5 separate regions of the Homo sapiens genome follow, and regions 1, 3, 4 and 5 are each linked to region 2. The links are contacts of gene promoters, found by promoter capture Hi-C in human tissues and cell types (Jung and others, 2019). All regions are on one chromosome and are shown on one strand. Each heading gives the region's core, a stretch centred on a gene start or on the middle of the fragment in contact. The rest is flanking DNA. Distances are from core to core; before and after follow the strand shown.

Region 1 (5,241 bases), core at 1-2,500, 350 kb after region 2:
TCAAACACTCGTCTGAACTTCCTAACATTTGCTTATAACCTGGAGGCAGGAGAAAAAGTAGTGTTTTCTCAGGGATGGGGCTGAGGAGATAACCCAGAAGCCTTGAAGCACAGAGTTAGGACCATGGTGGATGCTGGAGGCTCTTCTGGCTTGCGTAGTCCTTCAACTACAGTACAACTACCCAAGTCAAACTATGAGTGAGTCTTGCCCAAAAAATAGAAAGGATGAATGAAACGTGACAAGTGCTTAAAGTACATTCCATCTGTAGAACAAATAGAAATGATCCCCCTTTGGTCACTTTAAAAAAAACATGGTGGCTCACGCCTGTAATCCCAGCACTTTGGGAGGCCGAGGTGGGCAAATCACCTGAGATCAGGAGTTCGAGACCAGCCTGACCAACATGGAGAAACCCCGTCTCTACTAAAAATACAAAATTAGCCAGGCATGGTGGCACACGCCTGTAATCCCAGCTACTCAGGAGGCTGAGGCAAGAGAATTGCTTGAACCCAGGGAGGCAGAGGTTGCAGTAAGCCAAGATCACGCCATTGCACTTCAGCCTGGGCAACAAGAGTGAAACTCCGTCTCAAAAAAACAAAAACCAACAAACAAAACCCCCAAACACCAAAACACCAAGACACATACATATACAGAAGACTGCAAAGTACTAAAATGTTAACAGTAGTTATTTCTGGATGATGGGATTATGGAAGTTTCTAAAATACTTCCTTCTCATTGCTAGTCTGTTTTCTGAATTTTCTAAAATGAACACATATTAGCTTTGTAGTAAGAAAAAAGTGTTTCTTTTTTTAAAAACGCCAAGTGGGAAAAACTATAGGCATTAGAAAAAAGAGAAATCATTAAGGATGGACGTAGACACTGAAGTTCCTTCCTTCCTTTAAAGGAAGAAGTTGATTCTCATTATTCAGTGTTTATGTTATAAAATCACAGTGGACAATGAATTAGTAAACCCTTGTTCCTGAGGGAAATAAAAGGTAGGTAGGTTCCTGCAAGCCTAAGGTCACAACATTTTCATCAAATGATCAATAGATACCTTGCTTTTATATGTGTTTCTGTTTAAGGACACCTCATTTGACATTATTTTTGATTCCTTAACATTGAACTCACAGTTACAACAGCAGTACAACTCATGCCGGAATGAAGCTTATCTAATATACACATTTTCTTCATAAGGCACATTACGGTCTTTCTGCACTCAGGAATACTAGACAGCACTTCAGCACTATGCTGTTTGCATTCTGAACAGCAAAATTAAGCCAAGCATGGTGGCATGTGCTTGTATTCCCAGCTACTTGGGAGGCTGAGGTGCGAGGATCAATTGAGCCCAGGAGTTTGAGACCAGTCAGGACGACACCACAAGACCTCCACTCAAAAAACCCAGCAAAATCACCAATTAAAAGCACAAAAATACAAAGGAAGTGGCACTAAATGACCATGAAAAGAACATTTGTTTACAATACGAGAACTGAAACAAGAAGGCAGAGCACTGTCTTGTTCAACCTCAGCTGAAAACACTGCAACAGCAGGGTGACTCAACTTTTTCACCACTCTGTGACTGTCTGCAAAAAGTGCCATGAGTAACAGAGCGAGACTCTGTCTCAAAAAAAAAAAAAAAAGTGCCATGAGTATTGATTTTGGGGTTACAAATTTTAATGAGTAGGTGAATTCACAAATATAGAGTCTGTGAATAACAAGGATTGACTGTATTTTACTAAATTATTTAAGGGCTAACCTTGCCTAAAACTCAAGCGATCAAAGCCCTATCCTTTGAGTGTCTAAAGTAATTTTTCACACAATCCCTGCCAGGAGATGCCTGAACATAAGGATAGTTCTCAACAGTGGCAAATGCCAACAGAGGCCCACCTCTACATTTATGCTAAAAGGAATACTCTACAAAGGCACAAGACTATGTTAGGGAGTCTTCAAACTTTCTGGTTATTCCTCAAACTGTACCTTCTACTCCTGCTGACCAAACCCAGATTCTCTCTCAATACAGGAAAACAAATTGTTGAAGGTTTTTACCCAACCATGCAGACAACAGTTATCGGAAAATAAAACAGGTCAATTCCTTAAAAAGATCTCAATCCTGCCTCTCCTGATAGTTAATCACACAATCAGAGTTTTGTAAAGGAAGAATGGAGGAAAAGATAAAAAAGCTTCTGTGCCAAAGAATCCCAGCATGCATGCCATGCGCCTACTCAGTGGGTGGGGGTCTTGTACGTCAGCAGCACACCATTCAGTGCCAAGGTTAAGGCATTCTGTTTTTCGGTATCTAGAGGGGGCACAGTTGCCAGAAAATTAAAATGGCTTTACATGTCCTGATTTAATGTCTGAGTTTAAATCCTAAACTACTGATAAAGATTAAAGAGAGGAACAGGGTCCCTTGGACCACCTTGCTGAGCTGGTTTTTTCCTAATGTAATTTGTACCACAGCAACCAGGAGAGAAAATCGTTCTTACCTGAATGAAATGAGTGACCATATGGACATAGGCCCCTGCAGCCGCCACAAACATACAAAGGGCAAAACTTGCATAGACCTTCTTCAGGTGCTGCTGCGTTGACGGGGTTCTAAGAAAAGAATGTGAATAAGAGCAATCAGTCCCAGATCAATCTCATATTTAAGCTAAGAAGAATCATTTCTCTCTTTCCCTTCCTGGGAATATGTAAAAGTTCTGTTACAAATAGTTTGAAATACTTTTAGGAAAGCATATTACAATAAAAAATAATATTTTGAAAATAGGTTAACAGAACCTTAAATGCTGAGGAAGACCAAATGCCCAAAATTATGAATAATCAGTACCCAAACTAGAATAAATGCCTTTCCAATAACCACACAGCAACGTGTAGAATTTGGACATTTTCATCAGGTCCTCTGGATTCTGGCCAAGTTAATTTGTTAGCTTATACACACAAAAGTTATAAATGCAGAAAAGGGACAAAGAGATATGAAAAGAAATGCAGTACAAAACCAGTCAAGGTCAAAACACTTACATATGAGAAAATTTTAAAAGCGCATCAAAGTTGATCTTTCGATCAAATATGTTCATGGTTCCAGAGTCCGTGCAGCAGTCTCCACTCTGCAGAATAAAGAAAGGTTAGAGTCATTAAGTCATACAGAATCACACGAACAGCTTATAAAAAAAAAAAAAAGCAACATGTAAGTTCAGAAAGATGAAAACTTGCCTAAAATTCTACAGCCCTAACACAACCATTTTTATTTTTATGTGTCCTACAATATATTTGCAATCATAGTCAACCATCTTAAAGACGACAGAGGAATTGAATGCATCTTCTTCTCCCTCAAACTATTTTGTTACTATCATCTGATTTCTATTCTTTCAGGTGATTTGCCACTTTAAAAGGCAGTAAGTTTATAAAAGAAATTCTCAATTAACAATCTAGTTAAAGGAACCTAGACATTGGCACATAAAGCAATTTTATGTCATTGTTTCAAGATGCTAAAGAATTCCCTTGGCTGGGCATAGTGGCTCACTGAGGCCTATAATCCCAGCACTTCTGAGAGGCTGAGGTGGGCGGATCACCTGAGGTCAGGAGTTCGAGACCAGCCTGGCCAACATGGTGAAACCCTGTCTCTACTAAAAATACAAAAATTAGCTGGGTGTGTTGGCACACACCTGTAATCCCAGCTACTCAGGAGCCTAAGACAGAAGAATTGCTTGAACCTGGGAGGCAGAGGCTGCAGTGAGCCAAGACACGCCACTGCACTCCAGCCTGGGCAACAGGGCAAGAGTCCATCTCAAAAAAAAAAAAAAAAAAAAAAATTATCTCACTAGCAGCACCTCAAAGATAAAAAACAAAACTTTGACTAGTCTTAACAAAACAAACAAAAACTATAAAGCTGGGTCTGGCATTAAGACTTGCATTTTAAATATATGCGTATCAAATTTTCTTAACCTAACACATTTAAGAACTGAACTGAAAAGGACTCACAATTTTAAAAAAAGAGAGGTTCCTACCTCCATAAAAAAGGAATTTATGCAGAAAGGAGGATTTTTTGGGGGGTATTTTTTTGACAGTTTCAGAACCTTTCCTACAGAAAGGTTAGAACAGTACAAAGAATTCCTGTACAACCTTCACCCAGATTTCCTAAATGCTAATATTTCACATTTGCTTCATCTTCTTTCTATATAGCAATATATAGACAGATGTAAAAATATTTTTTCCCTAACCATACAGACACAGTGCTCCTAAACACTTCAGTGTGTATATCCTGAAAGCAATGATCAAAATCAGGATATTAATACTAATGCAATACTATTTCTAATCTGCAGACCTTATTCAGATTTTTGCCAACTGTCCCAATGTCAAAAAGGGCATTTTTAAACTGAACTATATCCAGGTTAGATCATATCAACACCATAAAGTCAAGTTCTTAAGTTTTGCTCCCTCCCCTATTTCACATGCAATCCTAAGTAAACGTGTTCAATCTACAGTACTAAAGATCCAGTCAAGAACTTTCATCTCTTCTAAATATAAATCCTCCAAACTCCTATCAGGGCCATAATGCCCATCCATTTTAAATCTACCAGAAAAGGAGGGGCAGGGAGGAAGGGATTCAAACATAAAGTTGTGTGAAACGCCACCTACTGAATGAAGCACTCTAATCAGCACCCAGCCCAACACTCAGAACAATTCATCTAGGTAATAATAAAAGTTACAGTCCCCAAACAAATTTCCTAAGGAATCCTGGGCCAGTGGAAAGATATAAACATCATCTGCTTCCTGAGGCTCTCTCCCACAAATGAAACAATCACAATGGCTGGCTTGCTTTCTCTGGTTTCTTCTTTCCTTCTCTCATTAACATCACTACTCACCTCAGAACTTTTGTTAATTCTGTTCTTAAGGACAGATACAGTGAGAAGCTGCAGAACCTACTAAGGTTGTTGCTCTCTCCTCTGAGTCACACGGATCTGGGCCCTCTTGATCTAGATGGTGCAATTATTGCAGGTTGTTACAAGGCCAACCACAGCCTTCCATAACCAAGATGAATATGACTATGTCCTCTAGAGAGCACACTTACAGCATGGCAGAATTCAGCACCTGGAAAGTGTCTTTGTTTAAGGTTTCCCATTAACACCCCTAATGACATCCCTAGACAGCACTTACAATAATACTGAAGCAACTTTCAGAGCCAAGTTTCTCAGTATTCACAACAGCAATGCTAAAGAACCTCTTGCTTCCAATTACAAGAATTAAAGAAAG
Region 2 (5,921 bases), core at 639-3,138:
AATCTCGTCTCCTCCCTTCAGCCTCCCTTCCAGTGACCCCCAGCACCTCACTGCTTTCCTAAGCCTCTCCAGAGCCAACTGCCTCTCTTTTCTCCAGCAAACTCTTGGCCTGCGTCTGCCATTTTCTGTTCTCCTTGCTTCACCCACCCTGAACCCCACAACAGTGAGCCGCACCCTCCCCCATCCACATGAAGGTGTCCCTGGCACCTTAATAAGAGATATGCCAGTGGCGTTTGCCTTCAGATGGCCCTTGAGCTGGTCACAGATCTTGCCGATGAACTGATGGGGCACCACAAAGATCAGGATGTCAGCATCCTCTGCAGCCTGGACCACATCTGGGACAGCCACCTGTGGGGGTGACCAAGTGCTCGCGGGCCTGGCAGACCTCCCCTAGCCCCTGTGGAACCCTATTCAGGAGATCTGGGAGCCAAAGAGTGAGGCTGGTAGGGGAGCAGGAAGGCTTGTTTGGGACTGAATCTAGAAGGACTGAACTTGGAGGAATAAGACACTCTACTCCCTCCCCCCAGCTACCACTCTGTCTCCCTCCAGCTGTCCTGGGCTCTTGAGGACTCCTGGAAACCTCATCCCAGCACTCTCCTATCCCTTGGCTGTGGGACAGTGCGGGAGGCCAAAAGCAGCCTGGGCTTGGCAAAAGAAAGAGCTCAAATAAGATTTCATCACCCAGCTCCTCAGGAACCCCAGCTGGGAAGGGGGAGCCCCAGCCTTTCTGCTCTCTTCCCTGCTTCCCCTTTCCAGGTGGGGAGAGCCACGTGGATTTGACCAAAGACCGTAAGTCCAAGGAGCAGCCTCCAAGTCGGCTACTCACTCAGTGAATGAGTAACAGGATTAGTGCCGGAGGCAGGCACTACTGGACCCCAAGTCTGGGAGCCCAGTCTTTGGCTGCCATGGAGACCAACTTGTTCTCCCATCCCTTCCCCACCCACCCGCCTGGGAGCCTGTGAGGGGAAAGCATAGGTTCTCCTCAGTCCTCAGGAAAGGGCCCAGAGCAGCCCTCCTGAGACCTTCCCAAGTCCTGCTGCACCTGAAGCGGCCCTCTCAGCAGGAGGCACCTGTTGAGTAAGGTCGGCTCCAACTCCTGGCCCTCCCTTCCTCTCCCTGTTCTTCGCAGGGTGTTGGGGCTCACCACATTTGGGGGCAACTTGTGCCCTGGCAGGTATTTGACATTCTCATGCTGCGTGTTGATGATCTCAGTCAGCTTTTTGCCTCCAATGTCTTCCTCAAATACCCACATGGTCACCCGTGGGTCAAACTGTGCCAGCTGGGCTGCATTGCCACCCACGATCTTGGCGATGGCTGAGCCCCTGGTGGGAGGGGGAGCACAGGAAAGTACAGGAGGAGGGAACAGTGGCAGGAGTTGGGGCAGCGCCCCACCTCAGGATCTCACAGCAGCCCCCCAGGCTGTTCACTCCTACCTACCTTCCTTATCACCTCCACTCCCATGACAAATAGTCCCCAGTGACCTGGCAGTAGAAAGGAGACTCAGTCTCCTCACCCTTTGCTACTAGAGAAGGGAGCCCCACTTCTCATCTTCCCACCCCCAAACTCAAGCGGCTCTTCACATAGAGAGCTCTGGAGACGCCTTCCCATGGTGAACAGGTGCAGCTGCCCAGGAGGGCGGGGGTCAGGAGAGGGCCGGGCACCGTCTGTCCTGTGCTGCTATGATAGAAGATAGCAGCAGGGGCTGAACAGGAACCTGAGGGCCTTTCCCACCCATTCTGCCTCCTACCCACCTCTGTCTTGGGGGGCCTACCCTTCCCCCATATCACTTGACAGAGCTGCTTACCAGTTCCCGGAGCCTACAATGCAGACTTTCTTGCTAGCCATGGTGCCGCGTCTCTGCCTGAGCCGGCTCAGTGCCACACTCCCTAGCTCCTCTGCCGGCTAGGAGCATTTAACTCCACCACACGTGGGTGCAGCCAAGCCCCGCCCTCCAGGGGTGGGTGGGGAGGCTGGCGCCCAGGGAGATAGAGAGTCTGGCAGAGCCAGGGAAAGGAGAGACAGGGGTACAGACAGGTGTGGAACAGGAATGGGGCAGAGACTAGGCCCAGCTTTTTCTCCTGGGCTCATCGGCTGACAGTGCTGGCAAGCTTCTTCCCTTGGCCCCAGCCCAGCTTCCCACCATGGTCTCATTTTGAGGTCTGCTAAGAAAATAGCCCAGATAAGGAGCAGGTGACTGCTCTCCCTTGCTCCTTTCTGTCCCCCAGCATGAAATAAATTGTATTTAGCTTCAGTAGCAGCTAGGGGAATGCTTTTCAGAGGTAGGCTCCTCCATGACCCCCTATCCCCCCGCCAACCCTGCCACATATCCTCACAGGACCCTGTTCCACAGTTCTGTCCTCCAGCAGGCCCACGCTAGCTCCACTGCAGGGCTGGGGTGGGGGATGTGGGCCCACTTCCCACCTCTAAAGATGAGGCCACATAAGAGGTAAGGGCCTGCTTTGAGGACAGCCCAGCTCAAAAAAGGATGAGAGACTCCAGGTGCCTCAAAAGACAAGATTGTCTTGGTCACCCACAGAGGTCATCTTGGGGACTCATCCATGGGCCTCTCAGATGATCCCCACCCAAAAATGTGTTCTAGGGAAGGTGGGAAAGGTTAAAGTTAGAGAGCTCTGAGAATTGCGGTACACAATTTTGTTGTAGACTCTGGGCTTAAGAGGACAGGAGAGAATAGGAGGCAGGCAGAGTGCACACTGTCCTTGAAAGGCTTTGAGCCTCCTTCAACTCCTCCTCTCAGGGGTTTCCAAGGTACTGCCCCAGGGGCTTCATCAGGTGAATGGCTAGTTTGCAGAGGCCAGAAAAGGGGAAGGCAGGCAGTACCCGGGGCAGCTGTGTCCGTGGGGCTTTGTGGTCTCAGATGCTGTGATTGGGGGTAAGTTTGGTGTATGTTTTTTGGGGAAGGGCGAGAATGGAAGGAGCACCCTCAGCAGTTCAGGGCTCTGCATCGCCCACGGCCATCTGTTTGTCTAAGACGAGGGAAGCTCTGGTTTCCAGGCTGATCTGGAGAGTGGAGCAAGAGGCTCCTAACACTGTGCACCTTGGCCTAGAGGGCAGACACCACTGTGTGCTCATGTGCTGACCTCCTGGCTTGGCAGACGGCTAGGTGGGTGTTGCCATCCCCCTGGGCTGTTGCTGGCCAGCAACTGGTAACAAGCACTGGGCTACAGGGGAGTCTGTGTGCAACCCATGGGTAGGAGTAAGCAGGCAGGAGGTCAAGACTGGGGAGAAATGGCTTTCTAAGTTCCGGGGACTGCCCAGGAAAAACCAACCATATTCTCCTTCCATGGCCAGTAATTTCCCATAGGGAAACGGACATGAAATCAGTAGTTGGCTGTTTTTCTTAGCACAATGTTATACCTAATACAGAAACAGCCTCCCACAGACCACTCCTTTATTGCACTGGCACTGAGATGAAGGCTCCAGTGCCAGGCTGCCAGCTGGGAGCACTGATTACGGGTGATGGAAGAGAAAGGATGCTTCTGTCCCTGGCACAAATGATGGGAGCCCCAAAGAATGGATGTTTATGCATAAAATAACCCCCTTGTTTTTGCCTAAATGCTTCCCTCTCTCATTTTGCCCCTACAATCATTTTAGATAGTGTGGAGACTAAGAATGTGCTCATTTACATGGGAATAAAGAGGGTGCAGAGATTCAGAATCGGCTCATCACAGGAAGTTATCTGTATCACTAGAGCTCTTTTCCCAAGAGCAAACTGTAGATTTGCTTGAAATTAATAATGGTTCATCAGCCATTCATTACACATGTAATTAGCCTGGGTAAAAACAGATGCCATTTCAATGTCCTTGACATCAATTTTCTCCACTCCTAGTTATCGGCCCAACCACTCCTCTCTGCTTTCCCTTCTCAAGTCTGATAAACCCCAAGTTCCGGAGTAGGAACAGTGGTTGGATTTTTTGGTGGGTTTGATTACATATATTGAACAGGCAATACTAGAATGTTCCCATCCAAACAGGCAAAGGATAATTTTTAAACTACAACTTTGGAAAGTGGTTGTACTCTGATCCTATATTCCAAACCCCATTCTTGCATAATGACAAAGGAAAAAAGTCATGAGCCTCCAAGTGGGAAGCAGGCAGAACTGCAGGCGAGTTTCAAGTGATTGCTAATGGGAATCCCTCCTGAGCTGTCTTCCAAACTCTGCCAAGGAGGGGCTAGTTGTCTACAGTATGAGGATGACAACACAGAACTTCCATGGTGCTCTTAAGAACCAGCTACTCAGGAGGCTGAGGCAGGAAAATCACTTGAACCTGGGAGGCGGAGGTTGCAGTAAGCCGAGAACGCGCCATTGCACTCCAGCCTGGGGAACAAGAACACAACTCCATCTCAAAACAGGCAAACAAAAACTGAACTCTTATTTGAACCATGAAAGCGGAACCTTAGAGTAGCAGGCACAGGCTGGGCACGGTGGTTCACACCTGTAATCCCAGCACTTTGGGAGACCGAGGCGGGCGGATCACGAGGTCAGGAGATCGAGACCATCCTGGCTAACACGGTGAAACCCTGTCTCTACTAAAAAATACAAAAAATTAGCCGGGCATGGTGGCAGGCGCCTGTAGTCCCAGCTACTCGGGAGGCTGAGGCAGGAGAATGGCGTGAACCCAGGAGGCAGAGCTTGCAGTGAGCCAAGATCGCGCTACTGCACTCCAGCCTGGGCAACAGTGAGACTCCGTCTAAAAAAAAAAAAAAAAAAAGAGTAGCAGGCACAAAAAGCAAAAATGTCTTTGGTCGTCCAGATCCTGCCCACATCTAAACAGAAGCCCTGGGGAAGAAGTGAAACTCCTCCAAAGGCGGCTCAGGTTCGTCAAACCTAAGGGATCACGGGCATCTATGGCTCACTCCAGCCAACAAGTGCTCTGGGGAGCTCAGATGGACAAGGGGGAAAATGACTGCCACCAACCTGTTAGTACCTGCCTAGCAAGTCGGGAAAGGGCTCTTAAGATCCAGTGGTGAAGCCCAATAATCCCAACCAGCAACTAGGCTGCTTGGACCACTGGGGCAGACAGCAATCTCTTAAGGTAAGACCCTGAGGTCCACAAAAGTAGAAATCTCATTTTCCACTTTATCTCCCGTGTCTAGCATCACAACTAGCACATAGCAGGTGCTCAATAAATACTTGTCAAATAAAATGAACAAACACTACAAGCGTGGCTAATGGTATTGAAGGAAGAAGAGCTCAGGGAAGAGCTCTCTCACAGTAGGTAGGAGGACCCATCCTTCAGAAGATTCTTTTATTAAAACTGGGTAACATCAATAAGGGGACAGTACAAAAAAAAGTTTGGTCCATGAAAAAAACAATTCAGTTAATAAAAACAGTTATCAACAGGGACACTGTGGGAAGTACTGAGCTTCCTTCTCATGGTTCCAGCCAGGAGGCGGCCAGGGCTCAGCTGCCCCAAGGTTGTCCAGTGTCAACCTTTCAAGGGAGGGAAAATGGCAGGAAGGGGAAGACGGGGAGAAAATTCTGCTGTCCCCAGTGTAGAACAGGGAGGGATTTGGGGGTGGGGGTGTGCTCGCAGGAGCCTGAGGAGGGGGTGGGGAAGCAGGGGCTTTGTCAGTTCTGTGGGTTTAGAGCCCATGCTGAACGGAATTCCCCCTTTGTGCCCAGCTGTCTCCCACCCTTGCTGTGTTGAGTCTGCGAGCCTGGGATATGCTAACTCGGGGGTGATACAACCTGGAAGAAGAATGTGAGGCTCTCCTGGAAAGATGCAAAAACCATCTCAGATCCAAGGGGCCAAGATCACAAGGTCCTGCTGCTACCTGAGGGGTCTGAAGCTTTGAGGGCAGGGGCTGGGGAGTCACAATCCTGTGAGGCAGGGAGAGGGAAGAGTCACAAACCCAACTCAGCGCTATTCTCCAGCCCTAGGCGCTTTCACTCCTCAGTG
Region 3 (5,102 bases), core at 1,255-3,754, 280 kb before region 2:
CTAGAGTTCAGACCTTAACAGTGGGAACTGTAGTCACTGAATTTGTAAACCTAACTGGGACCCAGTAGTGGCACCCAACCACCAAAGGCAAGGTGGATATGATTACTGTAATGGACAGCAGCAGGAAAGCAGCAATCAAAATAGTCTGACTCACACTGACCTATGGCATTGGCTAGTTGATCAAGATGTTCCCAGAAATGAATAGATAGGAAGCCTACTAAATTCTTACTTAATCTGAACAAGTAGGAAATTCCTCGGTCGAATGAAAATAAATACCTGAATCATGAATCATGAAAACGAGTCAGAGTCCATCAGTCAATTCCCAAACTTGAGCCAGTTGACAGACTCAGAGCTCCTTGAGTGAACAGGACCTCAAGTTCTCTTGAAGAAGGACCCTGGGTCTACCTGTATACTATTACTTTTTCTGCTGACCTTGTAACAGAGTGTGCATTGGGAAAAAGGAAATAATCAGACCTTTTGGGGGACTACTGGGCACTGGCTCTGAGCTGACATTAATCCCAGGAGATCCAAAATGTTATTGTGGTCTACCCATTAATCAAAAAAGCTTTAGCTCAGGCCCATCTCACAGTGAAACTAGTGTGTCCCCAAACCCATCCTGTGGTTATTTCACAAGGTCCAAAATGTGTAATTGGAATATACATACTCAGCAGCTGACAGAATCCCCACACTGACTCCCTTACCTGTGGAGTGAGGGCTACTGTGGTGGGAAAGGCCAAATAGGAGCCACTAGTGCCTCTACCTAGGAAAACAGTAAAAATAAAACAAATATCCCATTCCTGGAAGAATTAGTGCCATCATCAAGGACTTCAAAGATTCCTTAGTGGTGATTTCTACCATATCCTCATTCAACTTTCCTGTTTGGCCTGTAAAGAATACAGATGGATTTTGGAGAACGACAGTGGATTATTGTAAGCTTAACTAGGTACTAAGTCCAGTCACAGCTTCTGTACCAGATGTGGCTTCATTGCTTGAACAAATTAACACATTCCCTGGTTCCTGGTATGCCGCTATGATCTGGCAAATGATTATTTCTTCCAATCTGTCAATAAGGCCCACCAGAAGTAGTTTGCTTTTATCTGGGAAGGCCAGCGATACAGCTTCGGTCTTCTATCTCAGGAGTATATTAATTTGCCAGTTGGGTAGAATTTACCTGCAAAACCATCTGGCCCAAGGAAGTTTCTTTTTTTGAGATGGAGTTTTGCTCTTGTTGCCCAAGCTGGCGTGCAATGTCGCGATCTCAGCTCACTGCAACCTCCACCTCCCAGGTTCAAGCAATTCTACTGCCTCAGCCTCCCAAGTAGCTGGAATTACAGGCATGCACCACCATGCCCGGCTAATTTTGTATTTTTAGTAGAGACGGGGTTTCTCCATGTTGGTCAGGCTGGTCTCAAATTCCCGAACTCAGGTGATCCACCCACCTCGGCCTCCCAAAGTGCTGGGATTACAGGAGTGAGCCACAGTGCCCAGCCTATTTTTTTATTTTTAGTAGAGATAAGGTCTTGTTATTGTGCTCAAGCTAGTCTTTAACTCTTGAAGTCAAGTGTTCCTCCCATCTCAGCCTCCCAAAATGCTGAGATTACAGGCATGAGCCATCACACCTGATTTTTTTTTTCTTTTTTCTTTTTTTTAAATGACAGAGTCTCCCTCTGCTGTTGCCCAGGCTGGAGTGTAGTGGCACGATCTCGTGTCACTGCAACCTACGCTACGCCTCCCAGGCTCAAGTGATCCTCCCGCTTCGGACTTCCGAGTAGCTGGGACCTCAGGCATGCACCACGCCCAGCTAATTTTTGTATTTTTGGTAGAAATGGGGTTTCTCCATGTTGGCCAGGCTGGTCTCAAACTCCTGATCTCAAGTGATCTGCTCGCTTCGACCTCCCAAAGTGCTAAGATTACAGGCATGAGCCACTGTGCCCAGGCACTGTATTTTAAGAAATTAATTTTTCCTAGGGAGAAACTATTGCCCCTTCCTAGGTGAGGTCTGTGAATTGTTCTCATTAATCCTTTTAGGTAACTGTCAACTGTCACTTAGTTGACAGGATGAAAGGATACATCTTTTTTTTTTTTTTTTGAGACGGAGTTTCACTCTTGTTGCCCACACTGGAGTGCAATGGTGCATTCTCAGCTCACCGCAACCTCCGCCTCCCAGGTTCAAGCGATTCTCCTGCCTCAGCCTCCTAAGTAGCTGGAATTATGGGCATGTGCCACCACACCTGGCTGAATTTTGTATTTTTAGTAGAGAGGGGGGTTTCACTGTGTTGCCCAGGCTAGTCTCGAACTCCTGACCTCAGGGGATCCTCCCGCCTCTGCCTCCCAAAGTGTGCGATTACAGGTGTGAGCCACTGCGCCCGCCTGGCTGAAAGGATAAACCTTGACCCTGTTATTCCATTGGGATATTGTGAAATATAACAATTCTTAAAATCTTTGGAATCTCCAAAGTGATGTCTTTTTGTATGCTAATGATTGACAGCTAGCTTCAGGATGGGACTGGTCATTAGAAAGACAAAGCCCTGATTAGAGGGTTGGGACTTTCAACCCCACCCCCCAACCTTCAGGGGTGGGGAAAGCCGCTGAAGGTCAAGCTGCTTATCTACGGCCAATGGTTTAATCAACCATAACTATGTAATCAAACCTCCATACAAACCCAAAGGACAGGGTTTGGAGAGCTTACAGAGAGTTGAACACATGGAGGTTCCTGGAGAGTGGTGTGCCCAGAGAGAATATGAAAGTGATATAGGAGTTAAGAAGAAATCACGTAGGCAGATAGTGAGGGTATGGGAGTCCTTGGTAAGGCTTTTCTTTTTAATGAAAAGCAGCCCCAAATCATTTTCTAACAAAGAGCAGCCTGTAAAGTCGAGCTGCAGACACAGAGCAGCAAGCTGGGAGCTTGCAGGGGTGAATGCCAGCAGAAACTAGGGACTAGACATGTTCAAGAGGGCGATTCCATCTTTCCTTCTCTGCCAGCCTTGTGTACAGTAAGGAGGAGACAACGTGGTGCCGGCCAAGGAGAGTTCATTTGCATAGTAATATTAGGGTGAAGCAACCAGCCTTCCATATGCACTATGTAAACATCATATCTGATTGAACCAATCTGTGAGCCTTACATAAATCAGACACCAGCTCCTCAAGCCACACTATAAAATCTAGCACATCCACCACCAGCCGGTCTTTTCCTCTGGGAAGATCTCCCTCTCTTTATTGAGAGTGCTGTTTTTCTTTCTCTTTTCTTCTGCCTATTAAACCTCCACTCCTAAACTCCTAGTGTGTATTCGTGTCCTAAATTTTCCTGGTACCAGATGATGAACCCCAGGTATACAACAGAGACAATGTAGCTGCTTCAGAAGCTCCATTCCCCTTCCACAATACCTTGCCCTAGCATCTCTTCAATAAACCAGTTCTGTGAGCTGCCCCAGCAAATTAATCCAACCAAAAGAGGGAGTCTTAGGAATGCCAAATTGAAATTGATTGGTCAGAAGTTCTGGAGGCCTGGATTTGTGACTGGTGTCTGAGTGGGGGCAGTTTTGGGGACTGAGGCTTCGACCTATGGGATCTGACACTGTATCTAGGTAGATGGTGTCTGAATTGAAATAAAAGACACCCACCTGATGTCCATTGCAGAAATGGTTCCCTGCTTGGTGGTGGGGAGAATCTGCTCCTCCGACCCCACATTTGGTCTGATCATGGAAGTCTTCTGTGTTAATAAGTTGATAACTGTTTTGCTGAATAGAAAAAAATAGAATAGAAAAAAAAACTGAAAGTTTTTTCCAATATCCATCTGGGATGAAATCATAAGTTGAATTTTTTTTTTTTTTTTGAGACAGAGTCTCATTCTGCTGCCCAGGCTGGAGTGCAGTGGCACGATCTCGGCTCACTGCAACCTCTCCCTAACCCCCCCACCCCCAAACTGGGTTCATGCTATTCTCTTGCCTCAGCCTCCCAAGTAGCTGGGATTACAGGTGCGCACCATCATGCCTGGATAATTTTTGTATTTTTAGCAGAGACGGGGTTTCACCATGTTGGCCAGGCTGGTCTTGAACTCCTGACGTTAAGTGATCTGCCTGCCTCAGCCTCCCAAAGTGCTGGGATTACAGGCATGAGCCCGGCCAAAATGTTCTTTTTCTGTATTGAGTTGACCAAAACGGTTTATGTGTGGTGTACAACATTATGTTTTGATATATTTATACATTGCGGAATGGCTAGATCCAACTACTTAATGCATGCATTTCCTCACATATCTTTTTTGTTTGTTTCTTTGTTTGTTTGTTTTTTGAGACAGGATCTCACTCTGTCTCTCAGGCTGGAGTGCAATGGCATGATCTTGGCTCACTGCAACCTCCACCTCCCAGGTTCAAGCGATTCTCCTGCCTCCCTATAGCTGGGATTACAGATGGGTGCCACCAGGTTTGGCTAATTGTTGTATTTTTAGTGGAGACAGGGTTTCGCCATGTTGGCCAGGCTGATCTCGATCTCCTGACCTCAGGTGATCCACCCACCTTGGCCTCCCAAAGTGCTGGGATTACAGGCGTAAGCTACTATGCCTGGCCACCTCACATTTCTTTTTGTGGTGAGAACACTTAATATCTCCTCTCAGCAATCTTCAAGTATACAATGTATTGTTATTAACTATAGTTATCATGATGTATAATAAATCTCTTGAACTTATTTCTCCTGTCTAACTGAAAAATTGTATCCTTTGACTAACATCTCCACAATCTGCCCATCCCCAGCCTCTGCTAACCACTGTTCTACACTGTCTGCTTCTATGAGTTTGACTTCTTTTTTTTTTTTTGAGATGGAGTCTCGCTCTGTTGCCCAGGCTGGAGTGCAGTGGTGCGATCTCAACTCACTGCAAGCTCCACCTCCTGGGTTCAAGCAATTCTCCTGCCTCAGTCTCCCGAGTAGCTGGGACTACAGGCGCCTGCCACCACGCCTGGCTAAGTTTTTCTATTTTTAGTAGAGACGGGGTTTCACCATGTTAGCCCGGATGGTCTAGATCTCCTGAGACCTCGTGATCCACCCACCTCGGCCTCCCAAAGTGCTGGGGTTACAGGCTTGAGCCACCACGCCCGGCAAGTTTGACTTCT
Region 4 (5,340 bases), core at 2,622-5,121, 300 kb after region 2:
ACTGTCTCAAAGCTTAAAAAAAAGTCCAGGAGGAAGTGGTCACAGAGGTCTTATACCTGCGATGGCAATGAGGACTGAAAAATATTGTTTGGATTTAGCATCGTGGTGGTTACCACTGAAGTCGGACCAGGTTAAGGGAACAATGAGAAGATGGTTTTGGGATTTTCTTTTTTGTTTTTTGAGAAGTTTGGCTTTGAAGTATCTAGAGTATTTTTTGAAATTTGGCAGTATCTGGGAAAATGTCAAGCAAAGATTGTTGTTTTTGTTTGTTTAAGAGAATAAAAAGGGTCCCTCTTTGTCGCCCAGGCTGGAGTGCAGCAGTAGCCGGGTCATAGCTCGCTGCAGACTCGGAGTCCCTCAAGTGATCCTCCCACCTCAGCCTCCCAAGTAGCTGGGACTACAGGTGTGAGCCACTGTGCCCAACGAGAAGATTGTTTTTAAGATTTAAAGATTTTAAGTTTTAAAGGGTAGATGAGAAAGCTGTCTTCAGGAGGTAGATACTGAAGACGTAAATGGGGAAAGTCTGGGACAAGCAGGACTGGCTTTGCCCGGGAGCAGGCAACTCATCTGCTGTAATAGTGGATGAGGAGGTGGGGAGGGTTCCGAGGGGGATGGGAGGGTGGCGGCAGGAGGTGTGAGGGGGTTCCCCTCTGCTGGCTTTAATCCTCTGGGGAAACAGGAGGGTGGTAAGCCAGAAGTTATAGGAGAGTGGAGAGGGTGTGTGCTACTCATGGCACAGAATGAGAGAGCAGCTCTCTTACTTGAGCTGGGCAGGATTGCCAGGCTGGACTGACAGTGGGGCTGAGCTGGCCTTCTGTGGTGGGGAAGAGAGTGAGAGAGCGCGTAAGCACAAGCCTGGGGACAGGAGTCCCTTTGCAACACCCACTCCTTGTGGAAAGAAGCATTGTCCTAGAATACGCAAGTTGAGGAATCCCAGGGAACTTCTTGAGCTCGCATGTGGCTATCTAAAATTAAATGTAAAATTCAGTTCCTCAGTTGGACTAGCCACATTTCAAGTGTTCGGCAGCCAGGTGTAGCTAATAGATAGCTTCCATGTTGGATAGTACAGACTAAGCATGTTCATTATTACAGAAAGTTCTACTGGACAGCACTGTTCTAGAAAAATGACTCCAACTTTTTGGTCTGAGGACCCTTCTATACGCTTAAAACTTGAGGACCCCGAAGAGCTTTTGTTTATAAATGTTATACTTACAGTTATTTAATTAATTTGTTTAAAAATAGCAATAAACCCATCACATGTTAACATATTTTATTTAAAAATTTAATTGTATATGTTCCAAAAACACAAATAATAATAAGTCATTGTTCTCTATTTTTGCAAATTTCTTCTGTCTGACTTAATAGAAGGAAGCTGGCTTCTCCTGTCTGCTTCGGTATTCAATCTTTTGCGGTATCACACAGCATAGTATCTGGAAAATGCCACTGTACACTCAGGAGAGAATGAGAGTAATAAAGGCAGATAGTGTCTTAGTAGTAGTATTAGGAAAACAGCTTTGACCTTACAGACCCCTGGAGAGGGCCACAGGGTGCCTAGGCCCCACTGTGGGAACCACTGTGGCAGAACAACAACCACTTGGCGTGAAGAAACTCATCTCGGGGAGACGGAATGATTTGCCTAGTCACACAGCACATAAGTTAATTGCAGAGTTCGAACTGGACTCCATGCCTAGACTCTTCTGCCTTCCGGTCTAAGGCTGTTTCCAGTACCCTCGGCTGGGCTAGGACGGCCTGGGCTGGACTTTTGGGAGTGGGGCCTGGGCCACTTGGCTGCAGAGCCCCTGGTGTGTGGTCCTATAAATAAACCCATTGTGTCGGCACCCCTTCCCTCTCCCCACCCCCTTCCCTCCCCCCACCCCCGGCAGCTGCTAGTTTTGTTACTGGGTTATGCTGTGGACAGGGAGCAGGAGGGCTCTGAGGGAGGGGAGATGAGGGATGTTGAAATCTGGAGGCCTTTGGGGCTTATAACACGACTGCCCTTCCTTCTTCCCTTCCTGGAAGGGCCGAGGACCTATCCTGCAGCTGGTTTGGAAGAACTCACACCATGGTGGTTGAGGTGCTTGGAGTGCCTGTGAAACGGAAGTTGGGGGGATGTAGGGGGCCCCTTCCAAGACAGATGCCTCTCAGAAGGGCTATTGTGTCTCCAGTACCAGTTGTCAGGAGGAGGGAAGGAAATTCTTGTCTGCCCTCTTACCCTGAATGGGGAGGAGACCAGTTGGAATTCTCAGGGCTGAAAGATGCTTTGGGTCAGGGATTAAGTGGCCCCTTTCAGGCTAGAAGTGCCCTGGGAGCCAGGCCTCAGTCCTCCTATCCCTCCCCACACTCCTCAGCAGCCCAGGGCTGATCTTGGCTGGAAAGGGTGTTTGCTGTGGGGACAGAAGTTGCTGTTTACAAGTGGATTCTTGGGTGTGACTGGTAAAAGGGCTGGGAGGGTAAGAGGGATTCCAGAAAGCAGCTGGGGAGGGTGCGGAGGGAAGCGGTTGGTGTTACGGGTGATTCTGTGATTAAGTGAGCTCTCCATCTCTGCCTTCCTACAGCTGCCCACCCTCCCCCACTCCTGGTCCCTGGCTTCTCTCCCTAGAGGACTCTGGGGGGAACAGCTGGTGAATGAGGGGCTCACCAGGGGCCAGGAGGCCTTGGCTAAGGGCCGGGGTGAGGGAATGAGGACAGGCTTGCTGCCGCCTGCCTCTCCAGCCCCTTCCTCCCATGCCTGGTCTCTGTTCAGGGAGGGGTCTTGCCTGTGCCCTGCTGGAGAGGAGGTAGGAGCCACAGACCCCTTCTGGTCTGGCTAACTGAAAGGCCAGGACAGTAAGATCTCTTTGGAGGCCCTGAAAGCCCCTGTCCCCTCCTGGCTTTAAGGGGGAAGGGAGAGCTGGGGCCCTCCGTGACTGACTTGGCTGAAGAGATGGTGGTCGCCCAGGTTACCCAGAGACCCCTGAGCAAGTTTCCTCCTTCCTCGGCCCTGGCTGCCTGAAAACTGGCCCCCTCCCCACACCCTCTGAAGGACGAGCCAGAGAGGACTCCGCTCTTCTCCCCCCTCCTTCTCTCCCTCCCCCTGCACTGAGGTCACCTCCCTCAGAATCAGGCCTTTGTGGATGGCAATTCCGGCGGGAGAAGCCTCCAGTTCAAGTTAGAGTTCCCAGACCCTGCCTGGCCGGCACTGTGTGTCCAGACCCAGCGTCCCAGACGTGTTGGGGCCACCAGAGGAATGTCTGAAACCAGAGCCATTCCAAAAACCCGAAGCCTGGGGTTTTCCCTGCCCCAGGTCGGGCTGAGCTCATGGCTGTGAGCAGGAGCTGTGGGTCCTGAGGGAGGAGGCGGTGCTCAGCCCCTGGGGAGGCAGCAGGGACCACCACTGCGAAGCCTGCCTGGGCAGGCATCCCCCATGAGAGGCAGGCAGAAAGCCCAGACTCCAGAGGGCCACATTCCTGACTTGGCTTCGATTTGGAGCTGGTGGTGGTGGTCTCTCTCTGGATCTTGACCTTCCCTAGAGAAGGGTAAGGACGCAGGAAGTTTTCTTTAGAAATCTTGAACTCAGACTCTGGGCCGACTCTCATGGCCCGTGCTCCTCCCCACCACCAAGCTTTCCTGCAGGTCTCTTCCCCGTGACAGCTTCCTGCCCTCCACTGTGACGGCCCTGCAGATGCAGAGGAGGCCCCCTCATCCTGGGCTGACCCCAGACCCCCTCGCTGTGAGGCCAGAAAGTATTTCTCCTGAAGAGGGGCTGAGTCCTAGCCCCACTCCAGCTGGGGCACTCTGAGAAGAAGAACTGTGACCACTGGCTGGCTCATAAATCGGAGGGTCTCCCCCATTCTCAGTGGAACTCGGGCCTCCTGGCCTGGGATTCACAGGGGCTCAGCTGTGGATCGGGGCCATGCCTGGCTTTGTGTGGAGTGTGTGGGGTCTCCATGCTCCTCAACACAGAAAACCACTGCGTGCACACATAGAGAGTCCGCAGCCAGTCCTCACAGCCTGGCCTTGCTCTTAACCTGGATGCTTTTTTATTATTTTGGGAAAAGATACTCTACATTGTTTCGTTGTTGCTTTCTTGTGAAGAACACAAATCTTAGGGTTTCCCGGTCCTTAGCGTTATCCTTTTCCAGACCCCGAATGCTGCCTTCTTCATCCCATTCCTTTCCCTCACCCTCCCAACTTTTTTCTCTTCCTCCACAGCATACCTCAGCCACACCCTAGCCCCTCTGATGGTGAGGGGATTGAGGGACACGCTGGGGACCGATGGGCAGGTTGCTGCAGGCAGTGGGAGGACAGTGGCCCAGAGACCAGAGTTGTGGGTGAGGGTGGCACTGGTCAGATGCTGGAGGTGACCTGAGACATTCTGGGTTTCACCCCATTTGAGTGTGGGAAGGAAGATAATTCTTAAATATTTTTCATTTTTTTTCCAGGCCTGTATATTTCTAAGTCTATCAAACGTGATAATGTTATGAGCAAACCAAGTTAAATATGATACATTTTTATGATGTTAAAATAAAAAACTTCAGATTATTATACAGTATTAACAATAAGCATTAGAGGCCAGGCACAGTGACTCGTGCCTCTCATCCCAGCCACTTGGGAGGCTAAGGCAGGAGATCACTTGAGCCCAGGAGGCCAAGGATGCAGTGAGCTATGAACGTGCCACTGAACTCCAGCCTGGGCAGTGAGGTGAGACCCTGTCTCTTTAAAAAATAAAAAAATCAGTATTAAACAGGTCTTCCTTTTCCTCCAAGTGTTTTCAGAAGTCCCCTTCCCACTGTTGTGTACACACACACACACACACACACACACACGAAGAAGCATTCTCTCTTTTCACTGTAATCCCAGCCCCCAAACATCCAGCTGCTTCTCTTTCTGGGGTATAGAAGAGAAGAGGGAAGGCAAGGCTGGCCCTGGGGCTGGAGGGCCGGCTGGGAGGAGTTGGAGAGGAGGCCTCTGAGGGCAGGGTGGGCAGAGCAGCATTCTGAGATCTTCAGGTGCCCCTATAGCGGAGACCCCTGGGTAAGGGCCCTGGGACTCGGAGTCGGCCTCTGTGTGAACGGACAAGGTAGCAGCAGGCTCCACAACAACCCCATAGCTTTGTACTGTGCCTCTGTCAGCAGGTGATGATATGAAAAGTCTCCATTTATGGAATTCACGCCAGACACTCTACATATATTATCTCATTTTGTCCTCCAACAACCCTTTGGGCTAAGTGTTCTTATCCCTGTTTTACAAGTGAGAACAAGAGAAAAGAGATTCTTTAGTGTCAGATTTCTAGCCCAAGTTTCTAGCCTCCAGGGAGCCTTAGGGCTGTACGGAGCTTAAATGTCTGTTTTACTGTGGAGC
Region 5 (5,723 bases), core at 100-2,599, 500 kb before region 2:
TGCTTCAGCTTCCTGAGGAGCTGGAATTACAGGCACCCATCAGCACACCTGGCTAATTTTTGTATTTTTAGTAGAGATGGGGTTTCACCATATTGGCCAGGCTGGTCTCGAACTCCTGACCTCAGGTGATCCACCCGTCTCAGCCTCCCAAAGTGCTGGGATTACAGGCGTGAGCCACCATGCCCGGCTAATAAATATTTTTTGCACTGCTTCTGCTTACATAAATGAAATTTTGTTCTAGGCTGGATTCTTACAAAAGTAAATATGGTTTACTTCTTTGAAATCAGAGTATTGCAAAGAAACTTTTAAACTAATGTAAAATTATCTAGGAACACGCATTAAGAGTGTTGAACTAGTTGATCGATAGACTGTGCTAGTGTTACTATTTGTTTTCTTTTCTTTTCTTTCTTTTTTTTTTTTTTTGAGACTGAGTCTTGCTATGTCACCCAGGGTGAAGTGTAGTGGCACGAACTCAGCTCACTGCAACCTCTGCCTCCCAGGTTCAAGCAATTCTCCTGCCTCAGCCTCCAGAGTAGCTGGGACTACAGCCACGCACCACCACGTGGACCCAGCTATGTTTTGTATTTTCAGTAGAAACAGAGTTTCTCCATGTTGGCCAGGCTGCTCTCGAACTCCTGGCCTCATGTGATCCAACTACCTCAGCCTCCCAAAATGCTGGGATTACAGGTGTGACCCACCGCACCTAGTGTTACTATTTCTGATAGATGCTGTTTCCACGTAAGTTTTCAGCATAATCAAAATGGCTTTTCTAAATTGCATTTTTGTTTCTTTTTATTCTTGCAGTTAAAACAGCAACCATTTGATATGCTAAGACTTCCCCATCAAGATATTATCTAAATAAACTATCAGTTAAAAATAATTGGTGGACACAAATTCCAAATACTAATTTGCTAATTGTTGAAAGACTACAGCTTATTTGAAAATAAGCAAATTGTGGCCCGGTGCAGTGGCTCACACCTGTAATCCCAACATTTTGGGAGCCCAAGATGGGCGAATCACCAGAGGTCAGGAGTTTGACACCAGCCTGGCCAACATGGTAAAAACCTGTCTCTACAAAAAATACAAAATTAGCCGGGCGTAGTGGCGCACACCTGCAGTCCCAGCTACTCAGAAGGCTAAGGCAGGAGAATCACTTGAATCCAGGAGGCAGAGGTTGCAGTGAGCCGAGATCGTGCCACTGCACTCCAGCCTGGGTGACAGACTGAGACTCCATCTCAAAACAAAACAAACAAACAAATAAAAAACCCAGAAAACAAGCAAACTGTGTGAGGAATGATGTGTTTCCTCTGTTTTCAGACTAAGAGCTTGCTGTACTACAGCTATTAGTAATTTTAGGAAATTCTCCAAGCTTCAACCACTCTGCTTTTGCTGATTATATTCTATTACACTTCAGAGCAAGACTGTGTTTGAACAAAAACCCTGACCTTAGCCGAAAGATCTTAAAACCACTGAATATATAGCTGATAGAGCACTGGCCTTCTTTTCAGTAGTAGAAAGGGGATGCTGTCAAGAAAAGGAAAGGAAGAAAAATCACAGGAAAGACTTGATTTGATAAAAAATAAGTAATGAGATTATCTTCAAAATTTGTCTTAATGTTTAAAAATGTCTAGATCTTCCATTCCATATCTGTGTAATGCTGTGGAAGTCAGAAACATCTAGGTTCCAAACCTGGCTTATCATTTACTAGCTATGTCTCTTTGGATATGTTAGTTAAGTTTCCTGGGTCCTTGTTTTTTTCTATCTGTAAAATGGGGAAATCTGCACTTTTCTCATGGGACTGTTAACAGGATTAAGGAAGATAATCTACGCAAAGCTCCCAACAGAGTACTTGGTCCAAAGCAGACACTCAATAAATAAATGTTAGTTCCCCTCTCCACCCACTCCACCAACAACCATCAAAACCTCAAAAAAAAAAAAAAGAAGCCAAGCATGATGGCCCATGCCTGTAGTCCCAGCACTTTGGGAGGCAGAGGCAGGCAGATTGCTTGAGTCCAGGAGTTCTAGACTACCACTGCGGGCAACATAGTGAGACCTCATCTCTACAAAAAATACAAAAATTAGCAGGGTGTGATGACACACACTTGTCCTAGCTATTCAGGAGGCTGAGGTGACAGAATCATTTCAGCCCAGAAGGTCAAAGCTACAGTGAGCCAAGATAGTGCCACTGAACTTTAGCCCAGGTGACAGAATGAGACCTTGTCTCAAGAGGAAAAAAAAAAAAACAGAAAAAGAAGCCAGGCATTGTGGTATGAGCCTGTAGTCCCAGCTACTCAAGAGGCTGAAGTGGGACGATTGCTTGAACGCAAGAGTTGGAGACCAGCCTGGGCGAGACCATCAAAAAGATTAAATTAAATTAAAATCTCAGAAAAAAATTACAAATCAAAGGGTCCTGATATGAGTTGTATGCCTTTTTGGAATGAGTGAATTTTATGAAGATCAGCTAAAAACCACCTCCTTTGAAGGTGAGAAAAATTTGCACACCCATGTTCATAGCATCATTATTGTAAATGAAAAGTAAAAACAACTCAAATGTCCATCAACTGATGAATGGATAAATAAAACATGGTATATCCTCGCAATATTATCCAGCAATAAAACAAATGAAGAGCTAAGAGTGGTGGCTCATGCTGGTAATCCTAGCACTTTGGGAAGTCAAGGTAGGAGGACTAATTGAGGTCCAGGAGTTCCAGACCAGCTTGGGCAACATAGTGAGACCTCATCTCTACAAAAACTAAAAACACTAGCCAGCCATGGTGGCACACACCTGTAGCCATAGCTATTCAAAAGGCTGAGGTGGGAAGATCACTTGTGCCCAGAACTTGTGGCTGTAAGGGAGCTATGATGATATCACTGTACTTCAGCCTAAGTGACAGAGCAAGATCCATCTCAAAAGAAAGAAAAGAAAGGCCAGGTGCGGTGGCTCATGCCTGTAATCCTAGCACTTTGGGAGGCCAAGATGGGTGAACTGCTTGAGGCCAGGAGTTCAAAGCCAGCCTGGCCAAAATGGCGAAACAATGTCTCTACTAAAAATACAAAAAAGTAGCCGGGCATGGTGGCACACACCTGTAATCCCAGCTACTCTGGAGGCTGAGTTAGGAAAATCGCTTGAACCTGGGGGGCGAAGGTTGCAGTGAGCCGAGATCATGCTACTGCACTCCAGCCTGGGCAACAAGAGTGAAACTCCATCTAAAAAAAACGAAAGAAAAGAAAAGGCAGAGCAGGAAATAAATAAATTAAGAGAAAAATGAATGAAGTACTGATACATGCTGCAACATGACTGAACCTTGAAAACATGGTAAGTGAAAGAAGCCATTCATAAAACACCATACTTTCTATGACTCCATTTATATCAAATATCCAAAATAGGCAAATGCATAGACAAAGAAATAGATTCAGGTTTGCCAGGGGATGAGTAGGGGGAAAGGGAATTGACTGCTAATGAATATGGGATTTCTTTTTATTTTGGAGACAGGGTCTCACTCTGTTGACCGGGCTGCAGTGCAGTGGTGTGATCTCAGCTCACTGCATTCTCCATCTTCTGGGCTCAAGTGATCCTCCCAGCTCAGCCTCCCCAGTAGCGGGACTACGGACACACACCACCCTGCATGGCTAATTTTTGTATTTCGCCATGTTGCCCAGGCTGGTCTCAAACTTCTGGCCTACAATGATCCGCCCACCTTAGCCTCGCAAAATACTGGGACTACAGGCATGAGCCACCTTACCTGGCTGAGGTTTCTTTTGGAGTTCTAAAAACGTTCTAAAATCAGATCACAGTGATGGTTGCATAACACTATGAACCTACTAAAAAACATTCCATTATATATTAAATTGGTATATTGTATGATACGTGAATTATACCTCAATAAAGTTGGGGGTTTTTTAAACCTTACTGCATCTAAAGTTTAATAAATCAAATCGGGGTGTTCAAAAGACACTGTCATCTAGAAAACAGGCTACATTAATGGGTATGTGTATATAAACTTCAAGTCATTTATAAGAATCTTTAAGCAATTCATCATGTTTCTGTCTTTTTACTCATTACATAAAATGAGTATCTTATCTCCTGTGCATCTGAAGTGATACCGGCTACGTACTATCCTTGGGAGAACTGAAGAGGTTCACTCAGTTTTCTGTAGAGGTTATCTGTGGAACTCTCATTGATATATATTCTTTTTAAATAGAACATTTATAGAAATTGACTACATACCAGATCATAAAGCAAGTTATAAAAAATTCAAAGAACTGGTATCAGGCATATCGCTTCATCTGTCAACAATGCAATCAAGCTGGGTGTACTGGCTCATGCCTATAATCCCAGCACTCTGGGAGGCTGAAGTAGAAGGATGGCTAGAGCCCAGCCTGGGCAACAAAGCTAGAACCTGACTCTACAAAAAACTTAAAAATTAGCCAGGCATGGCAGCATGTGCCTGCAGTCCCAGCCACTCAGGAGGCTGAGACAGGAGGACCGCTTGAGCCTGGGAGGTCAAGGCTGTAGTGAGCCATGAACATGCATGCCACTGTACTGAAGCCTGGATGTCAAAGACTTTGTCTCAAAAAAAAAAATGCAATCAAGTTATAAATCAATAAAAGATAACTTCTGTAAAGGTCAGCCACAAAAAAGTCTACTACTGTGCTATTTACTTATAATGTACACAGTGCATGTAATGCATATATATACACAGTCACTTGACAACGTTAGCTCACAAGAAAATGAAATGAGGTTGGATATATGCTTGCATGCTGCCAACAAATTTCCTTATTAAATTTAATACATTAGGTTCTCAAAAACTGTATATAATCAATCATATTTAAGAACATTAAAGAGTTTGCTATTTAAAGGATTCAGAGTAAAACCTTTTGTACTATAATTATTGCCTAACTTGTCTGCTCTCGGTTCTTTCAAAAGCTTATTCTGTATATAGCACAGTGTTGAATGCACTATCACTATCTAGGAGCGTACAATCCATCAGAAGCTTGCATGATGCAAAACAATGCAAGAAAGGAATTTGGTACTCTGGTCAATGCCAAGGTCAGCATTTCCCCAAAGTGTTCTTCTAATTCAGCAAGCCAAGGCCTGGAACCAGGCCATGGCTTTCTCATCATTGTGAATTTATCCTTGAGCAGTTTCTGAAAAAGAACTTCAGCAGAAAAATGAGCTTTAATCACCTAAGGTGAATAAGTAGCTTAAAAACCTGAAAGACAACCAATAATCTTCCTAATAAATAAAATGGTGGGCCAAGTCATACCTCTCCCTTCTCTTCTCTGCACTAAATATCACAAAATGACTTGAGTCTTTTTTTTTTCCAAAGGCAAGGTCTCATTCTGTTGCCCAGGCTGGAGTGCAGTGGTATGATCATGGCTTGCTGCAACCTCGACCTCCTGGGCTCAAATGATCCTCCCACCTCACCCTCCCGAGTAGCTGGAGCATGCAACCATGCCCAGCTAGTTTTTTGGAGACGTAGGATTTCACCATGTCGCCCAGGCTGGTCTCAAACTCCTGGGCTCAAGCAATCCACCCGCCTTGGCCTCCCAAAGTGCTAGGATTATAGGCATGAGCCACCGTACTGGCCAAGATGTTTTTTAAAAGACTCAATTCTCAAATACCTTACTTGCGTAGCCTAGGCAGTAAGATTAAGACTAAACCAAGCGTCCATTTCTTACACTGTGATATTTTTTCTTCCCAGTTCCTCCCACCCTGCCTA

What was found. Contacts are between HindIII fragments. The study calls those that stand out against the background at their distance.
Region 1: a fragment that was not itself captured here is called in contact with the fragment with the promoter of GPD1 in region 2 in 2 of the 25 tissues and cell types used here (IMR-90 fibroblasts and pancreas).
Region 3: a contact is called between a fragment that was not itself captured here and the fragment with the promoter of GPD1 in region 2, in 4 of the 25 tissues and cell types used here (IMR-90 fibroblasts, adrenal gland, mesenchymal stem cells and 1 more).
Region 4: a contact is called between a fragment that was not itself captured here and the fragment with the promoter of GPD1 in region 2, in 1 of the 25 tissues and cell types used here (pancreas).
Region 5: a fragment that was not itself captured here is called in contact with the fragment with the promoter of GPD1 in region 2 in 1 of the 25 tissues and cell types used here (dorsolateral prefrontal cortex).

The regions. Positions count from the first base shown.
Region 1 is chr12:49,750,318-49,755,558 of GRCh38, reverse strand. TMBIM6 (transmembrane BAX inhibitor motif containing 6) reads right to left here. Exons shown (of 10, transcript NM_003217.3): 2 at 3,010-3,095; 3 at 2,478-2,586. The coding sequence starts at 3,065. Among named protein-coding and RNA genes, the nearest start is that of TMBIM6, 11 kb to the right of the region's middle. RefSeq lists an enhancer at 1,619-1,708. The HindIII fragment of the contact is 5,198 bases long and covers 1-3,849 here.
Region 2 is chr12:50,099,975-50,105,895 of GRCh38, reverse strand. It overlaps GPD1 (glycerol-3-phosphate dehydrogenase 1), which reads right to left and starts at 1,888. Exons shown (of 8, transcript NM_005276.4): 1 at 1,805-1,888; 2 at 1,145-1,322; 3 at 208-348. The coding sequence starts at 1,845. SMARCD1 (SWI/SNF related BAF chromatin remodeling complex subunit D1) reads right to left here. Exons shown (of 13, transcript NM_003076.5): 13 at 5,189-5,921. RefSeq lists an enhancer at 2,829-2,878. The HindIII fragment of the contact is 8,009 bases long and covers 1-3,960 here.
Region 3 is chr12:50,385,607-50,390,708 of GRCh38, reverse strand. All of the region lies in intron 1 of FAM186A (family with sequence similarity 186 member A), which reads left to right. Among named protein-coding and RNA genes, the nearest start is that of FAM186A, 8.5 kb to the left of the region's middle. The HindIII fragment of the contact is 5,559 bases long and covers 1-5,102 here.
Region 4 is chr12:49,806,712-49,812,051 of GRCh38, reverse strand. The region is part of intron 1 of NCKAP5L (NCK associated protein 5 like); the gene reads left to right. Among named protein-coding and RNA genes, the nearest start is that of NCKAP5L, 19 kb to the left of the region's middle. The HindIII fragment of the contact is 4,128 bases long and covers 1,808-5,340 here.
Region 5 is chr12:50,603,326-50,609,048 of GRCh38, reverse strand. The region is part of intron 1 of DIP2B (disco interacting protein 2 homolog B); the gene reads right to left. Among named protein-coding and RNA genes, the nearest start is that of DIP2B, 100 kb to the right of the region's middle. The HindIII fragment of the contact is 7,225 bases long and covers 1-4,961 here.